2 separate regions of the Homo sapiens genome follow, and region 2 is linked to region 1. The links are contacts of gene promoters, found by promoter capture Hi-C in blood cells and fetal thymus (Javierre and others, 2016). All regions are on one chromosome and are shown on one strand. The core of a region is centred on a gene start or on the middle of the fragment in contact, and the rest is flanking DNA. Distances in the headings are between cores, read along the strand shown. Region 1 holds the start of DMXL2 (Dmx like 2). Region 2 overlaps DMXL2 (Dmx like 2).

Evidence for each region. Contacts are between HindIII fragments. The CHiCAGO score rates a contact against its expected background, and 5 or more counts as called.
Region 2: a contact is called between a fragment that was not itself captured here and the fragment with the promoter of DMXL2 in region 1, in 2 of 17 cell types (M1 macrophages and monocytes). The highest score is 5.5, in M1 macrophages.

Annotation. Positions count from the first base shown.
Region 1 is chr15:51,621,144-51,624,769 of GRCh38, reverse strand. DMXL2 (Dmx like 2) reads left to right here and starts at 1,999. Exons shown (of 44, transcript NM_001378457.1): 1 at 1,999-2,311. The coding sequence starts at 2,225. LOC105370816 (a long non-coding RNA gene) reads left to right here. Exons shown (of 5, transcript XR_932236.3): 5 at 1-86. RefSeq lists a silencer at 1,862-2,081 and an enhancer at 2,452-2,861. The HindIII fragment of the contact is 5,213 bases long and covers 1-3,428 here.
Region 2 is chr15:51,572,739-51,576,108 of GRCh38, reverse strand. It overlaps DMXL2 (Dmx like 2), which reads left to right. Exons shown (of 44, transcript NM_001378457.1): 2 at 1-53. Among named protein-coding and RNA genes, the nearest start is that of DMXL2, 48 kb to the left of the region's middle. The HindIII fragment of the contact is 3,397 bases long and covers 138-3,370 here.

The DNA.
Region 1 (3,626 bases), core at 750-3,249:
TGTGGTCTAGCTGCCCTGGTGGGCTACCAAGGAAACTTGCCATATTAGTCTGGAGTGAGTTTTGACTGATCAGATTGGACAATAAAAGGCTCAGCTGTAATTCCAGGAGACTTAATTAGTCATTTGCAACCTTAAGATACAGCTATCAAGAAGCCATTTAAAGGATTCATGAGGGAAGAGAACAGGTGGATACAGGCTTCAGATTTTGAGTTTGATACCGAGAGGAAGAAAGAGGCTCACAACTTCACAACTGTGTGAATGGGCCAAAACTTCATGGAATGCTGTAAAACAAGAGCCAAATGTGAAATGGTTTAAATAATGTGAATTAGTAACACTCTTGGAAACCTGAGTACAATTTGTTGTTTGATGATAGTTTTGACTTGGTTTCTAATGCAGTGAAGGTCAAAGATTAAGAGACTCATCTAGAATCTAGTAGTAACAAAAAGGAACCCTTGGATATGGCGCGGGGGAAGGGAGGAAGGGGGGGGGAGGGAAGGGGAGGGAGGGGGGAGAGAGAGAAAGAGAGAGAATGCCGCAGGTCATTAGGTATTATTTTTCATTCCTCCTGCAACTTTCTACTGAAAAGATTACCAACGACTGACAGATCTTTGCCTCCAATCTTCCCCACCCTTCCCTTTATGCTTCAAAATGCTACAAAGTCATCTTCCCAAAGCAGCTCTGATTATATAAATTTTTGCTCAGAAACATCTGATATACCCCCACTGCATGCAGAGTGAAATCTGGGCTTCTTGGAGCATTCAAGACTCTCCATAATATGTTTTGGTAGGCCAAGAGTTAGACCACTTGGATACCTTGATCTCTTGCTAAGTATTATTTACTTTCCCTACCCTATAAATCATCTGCCTCAAACATTAATCTTTGTACCTTCAACACCCCCTCTATTTTCTGTACTGTATTTGCAGCATTTCTTGTCTATCTCAGCCTGTCAAAATTAAACTCAGCGTTTATGTCAGGTTATGTCTCCATAATGCCTTATCCACGCCCTTAGTCAACATTCTTCTTCCTCTTCTGTGGTGCATAAAGACTTTTATATCTCAATCACACCACCTTTGGCGTTCTGCCTGGTTTTACAGATAGTTATGTCTTGGTGTCCCCTACTTCCTTACCCTGTGATTTAAGCATAGTATGGGTTAGAACATTTGCCATGAATTGGCCTGTGGCAGGGAGCTGATGATCCTTGTTATCAACCATTCAAAGTTTAGCAGATAGTTTGGAAAATCAGGCGATTCTGCTAATTCATGAAATTACTCATGAAAAAAAGTCGAAAGGAGTCACCCGTCTCTAAGGCGGCTTTTTGCTGTCTAGAATAACCGTGACAAAAGGTGGGAGCAAAATAATTAGCTTTCAGGGGAGTATGGCTTCTCTAAATAGTTGCAAGATGCCTACATTGTTTATGTAAAATAAAATATCTTATGTACTGCACTTTCGAAAAGACTGAAGATATCTAAGATATCTCCAGGTGGAAATTCCCGGTGACGGGTGTCCTTCTGAGGTCAACGGCACTGACCATTGCACACTGTATTCTGGAATACGTTCAACACAGCAAAACCGGCTCGTGGCGCGTCCCCGGCGTCCGACTGCTGCGTGGCCCCGAGCGACCTGCACCCCACTCGCCCCCGCCCCCACCTCCGCCCCAGTCCGCAGCGGCTACAGCCCGGGAGGCTCCAAGGGAACTCCCGCACGTCTGCGCGCGCAATCACGGGACGGCGGGTCGGCGTGGCGCGCGCAATTGCCCTGGAAACCACGGCGCGCGCACGCGCAAACGCGGGTGATGGGGGGAAGAAAGACTGAGCTGAGAGCTTTGCCGCGGGGGGAGGGCTCTACCTCGCTCCCCCGCGGTGGGCGCGCGCGCTGGCCCGCTCCCTTGCTGCACGCTCCCGGCTCGCGCGTTCCCCCCGGTGCCCTCCCCCGCCTCACAAGCACCCTTGCCCTCCCGCATTTGTGCGCCGGTGCAGCAGGCAGTGGGAACATCCGGGCATTTCCGCAGCTGAGCGGCGACCCGGGCGGCGGCGGCGGTCGAGGAGCTCCCATGGCAGGGACGAGGCGGAGGGAAGGCGAAAGGGGGGCGAGGAGTTAAGCCAGAGCCTCCGCGGGGCGGGTTTCCGAGGGAGGCACAGAGGGAAACGGCTCTCGCAGCCCGAGGAGGGTCAGGCGCGGAGCTTGTCGCACCTCCCGCGCATTCTGTCCAGCCCGGGCTCCGGAGATGCATCTGCATCAGGTCCTCACCGGAGCTGTCAACCCTGGAGACAACTGCTACTCCGTGGGCAGCGTCGGGGATGTCCCCTTCACGGTGAGCGGCGGCCGGGAGCCCTAGGGGAAGATACCAGGGGCCAGACGCGGGGGCAGGGACCTCCTGTCCAGGGCGCACGCCTCCTCAGGAGGCTGTGAGATGTTGGTGGGCCCCACCCGTGGCCCCTTTGCAGCCTTGGGGTTTAGTTCCCCCTGGGACCCGTGGGACCGTGGGTCCTGCGTCTGGTGTAGGAAATCACCCGTTAGGGGAAAGGCTTAGGAATCCACCGCACTCTCCACCCCAAGCAAACGGGCCTGAGGTGACTGGACTAGAAGGCTCCTCCTAGGGCGGCCCTTCGGTCTGCGGTGGAGGAAAGTGGTGGTGCGGCTGAAACCCCAGAGCGTCCGTTTCGCAGCTGCTCTCGGCGTGGAGGCGAAGAGACTTGGTGTTGGTCTCGGAGCGTGGAGGTGAAGAGACTTGGTGTTGGTCTCGGAGCGTGGAGGCGATGCTGCGCCTTGGCTCCCCCTGCCCGCTGTGCTAGGGCAGCGAGGAGCTGCTGGAGTCTGTGGCTTTAAGCCTGACTCTGTATCTCCTGATAATGCAGGATCTTAATTCCAACAAAAAGATAGAAAAATTCATCCTCCGCGCCCGAAAGATTTAGAATGGAAAGGTTAGAGTCACAGTGGCTTGGAGAGCTGTCTCATTTATCAGGAGGTCGTAGTTTGGTAATCCTCCTAGATAATATTTTAATCTGTAAGGTAGCCTTTTTTTTAATATAGTAAGGCAATGTGAAAAATTTACAACAGTGCTTGTTTGAGAAAAGTGTATGTATACATAACGTTTTAGAATCTCCTTAAAAGCTAGATGAAGTAGACATGTTTCTCAAGGAGATTGGACTCATCAGTCCTTTTTGAGAGTGGAAATGTTTAAACCAAGCCTTGGAGCTTCGTTTACTCATAGATAGACTCCCATAAATTGAGTTCTTTTTTAAAGAATGAAATTTATACATGGTCTTCCTTATAAGGAACTGTAGGCAGCCAGACCTTTATTAAATATATTTTGTAAACTGTTCTTCTTGATAAAACTGGAAATTCCGTAATGGTATGCTTTTTAGACAAGGAAAACCCTTTGATGTCTGCTTTCCAACAGTGTTTTTAAAACTGCGGAAAATAAAGCTTCAGCAAAACTGCAGAATCATTATGTAGCAGTGCATTCTGGAACAGAATTTATTTTTTGACGTTTTGTGATACATTAACCCCAGAAGATTGCTTTTTAGCCATTTTAATTTTTTAGTGTAATCCACTTGGCCTAGCTCCAGTTTAGAACGACCCCTTTTGTCATCTGTGTTTTATGTACATGTGACTTAAAATATTCA
Region 2 (3,370 bases), core at 587-3,086, 48 kb after region 1:
AGCATGGAAACATCCAAGTCAGCTGTGTGGAGTGTTCTAACCAACAAGGAAGAGTAAGGGATTTAATTTCTTTACTGAATGTCATTTAAAAATGTGTTTAATAATCTCAGAATCTTCTTATCCTTTTATGCAAAGCTTGCGTATAATTTCTTATGTATTGCTTGGGTGATTATTAGCAGAAGTTGCAAAGTGATAGGTTTATACAAATTGTAAAGTGCCATTAAACTGATAATTTGATAATTGTTCTACAGCTGTATGTATACTGTCTTCAAAGATCTGTAGGCCTTACAATCCTGTGCATACTGATATTCTGCCAGTTAATACTTCTAGCAGCCATTAAGCCAGTAAGGGGAAGTAAACTTTTTTCTTCTCTACCTAGCACCCCTTATATCACTCATACTATAACATCAAAGTTTTATTAAGAAACTCTGCAAGTTGTTAATATCTAATATCATGCTTGTCATATAGGAAGTGCTTTGTAAAGTCTGTTAACATAATGAAAGATTTTTTGTTGAGTGAAGAGTCTTATGGTTCATTCAGGCTTTAAAACAGAGGTTTTATTTTGAAATAGTTAAAATTTCATCATATGTACCTCTCCCCCAATTTTCAAACATAATGTACATCAAATTTTGGTGGCATGTCAAGTAAATATAGGATGTTTGCTGTATACTCCAGCAATTCAGTAAGGCCAGTATTATGTAGCCGAGTTGAATGTCTCTACGAGAATAGAGTAATAAGGTTTTTACCTGTAATCATTGTAACAGTTTAAACAATCTTAGTGTTCTAGAAATTGTTATTTATTGGGTAACAAATTTGATCAAGAGTATGTTAAATCAGAATATTCATGGTGATAAATAGTAATCATACAAATTTATACTGAATGATAAATTATGGTTACTTTATCATACCATTTATCCTGCCCTATCCTACTGCCCATATCAAGCCTTAATATTTGTGTAAATGTACCAGTACTTGACAGTTCAGTGATACATTTGACCTAGTATTGAAACACGATTTCCTGGTGTTTCCTGGTACTTGTTTCTTGCTTTTCTAATTTTTCCCCCCAGGTACTCCCCACCCTCAAGCATTGCTTACACTTAGTTTAGAAAACATGGGGAGTGTCAGATTTCTCTTTTTAATTTTTTGTTGCTCTTCTCTCTAGGCCAAGCAAGGTAGCTTAAGCCTGCCTAAAGTTGTATGATAGTTGTCAGAGGTGAATTTTAGTAAATAACTCAAGTGCTGGTGATAATCGCAATGAACACACATTCTCTGGAAGTAAAACTTTTTAAAAAAGTATATAAGACATTGGTATTCATACCATGGGAAACAGAGCAACTTGTGTTTCTACTTTTCTTGAGATGGTTTAATGTAAATAAGGCAAAATTATAATATCTTTATTGTCTTTATTGACATCTTCGTTTAGTCCTTTTATCCCCCAGTCCTTGTGGTGATAACTTTCACATTGGTGACCTTGTATTAGTCTGTTATAATCATTCATTCATTGATTGACATGTTGAATGGAATTATTCACAACACTTTTTGCGTAAGTGTCATTTGAAGTAGCTTTCTGTTGTGGATTATGATTTTTCTTGGAAAGAATGTTAGATGTTGGATAAGAGTTAAAATCACTTTTTGGTATAACAGTGCCTTAAAATCACAGGGGATATTTTTGGCAGGCCTTAAAAGAATATATACCTAATTGAGTTTTAAAGGTTAACCAGGGTGCAGAGGTGTCAGAAAGGACGGTTTTTGGTCTATTCCCTGTAGTTAATTCCATCTTACCAAGAGGAGAGTGAACTTAGAAATAGCCTTCAAGAAATTATTGGAAAACAGGCTGTGGTAGTTTCTGGGAACAGAGGGATTTATGTCTTTTCTTACCAGGTATGTGACCTGGAACAAAATCCTCCTGGTCCCTAAATTTCTTGCTTCAGTCCTCTGGAGATGTCTTCATCAGCTCTTTCCCCCAGGTGCAGTTTATGGCTCCCTGACTTCTCCTTAGCCTGTTTTTTGTATTCCTTCCTCTAGATGGTGTCCCAATTGGTATTTTCTGTTTGATGGTATAATTAGGCCATTTTATTTGAAATATTTTTAAGACCTGTTATTAGTTGATGCTTTTCTCATAGATTTTATATTATTTTCACTGGATTATAAAGTTTCTGACAAAGATGCATGCTTTTGAAATGTATTTTTTAATAGTTATTTTATATTAAAAATAAAATTCTTATGAAAAATATGATTTTTTCCCATATGTATATATATATTTTTTATTATACTTTAAGTTCTGGGGCACACGTGCAGAACGTGTAGGTTTGTTACATAGGTATACACGTGCCATGGTGGTTTGCTGCACCCATCAACCCATCATCTACATTAGGTATTTCTCCTAATGCTATCCCTCCCCTAGCCCCCCGACCCCCTGACAGGCCTCAGTGTGTGATGTTTCCCCCAGTGTCCATGTGTTCTCGTTGTTCAACTCCCACTGATGAGTGAGGACATATTGTTTGGTTTTCTGTTTGTGTGTTAGTTTGCAGAGAATAATGGTTTCCAGCTTCTTCCATGTCCCTGCAAAGGACATGAACTCATCCTTTTTTATGGCTGTGTAGTATTCCATGGTGTATATGTGCCACATTTTCTTTATCCAGTCTATCATTGATGGGCATTTGGGTTGGTTCTAAGTCTTTGCTGTTGTGAACAGTGCTACAATAAACATACATGTGCATGTGTCTTTAAAGTAGAATGATTTATAATCCTTTGGGTATATACCCAGTAATGGGATTGGTGGGTCAAATGGTATTTCTGGTTCTAGATCCTTGAGGAATTCCCACACTGTCTTACACAAATGGTTGAACTAATTTACACTCCCACCAACAGTGTAAAAGCGTTCCTATTTCTCCACATCCTCTCCAGCATCTGTTGTTTCCTGGCTTTTTAATGATCACCATTCTAACTGATGTGAGATGGTATCTCATTGGGGTTTTGATTTGCATTTCTCTAATGACCAGTGATGACGAACATTTTTTTTCATATGTTTGTTGCTTATCAGCTTAAGGAGATTTTGGGCTGAGACAATGGGGTTTTCTAAATATACAATCATGTCATCTGCAAACAGAGATAATTTGACTTCCTCTCTTCCTAATTGAATACCCTTTATTTCTTTCTCTTGCCTGATTGCCCTGGCCAGAACTTCCAGTACTGTGTTGAATAGGAGTGTTGAGAGAGGGCATCCTTGTCTTGTACTGGTTTGCAAAGGGAATGCTTCCAGTTTTTGCCCATTTAGTATGATATTGGCTGTGGGTTTGTCATAAATAGCTCTTATTATTTTGAGATACGTTCCATCATTACCTAGTTTATTGAGAGTTTTTAGCATGAA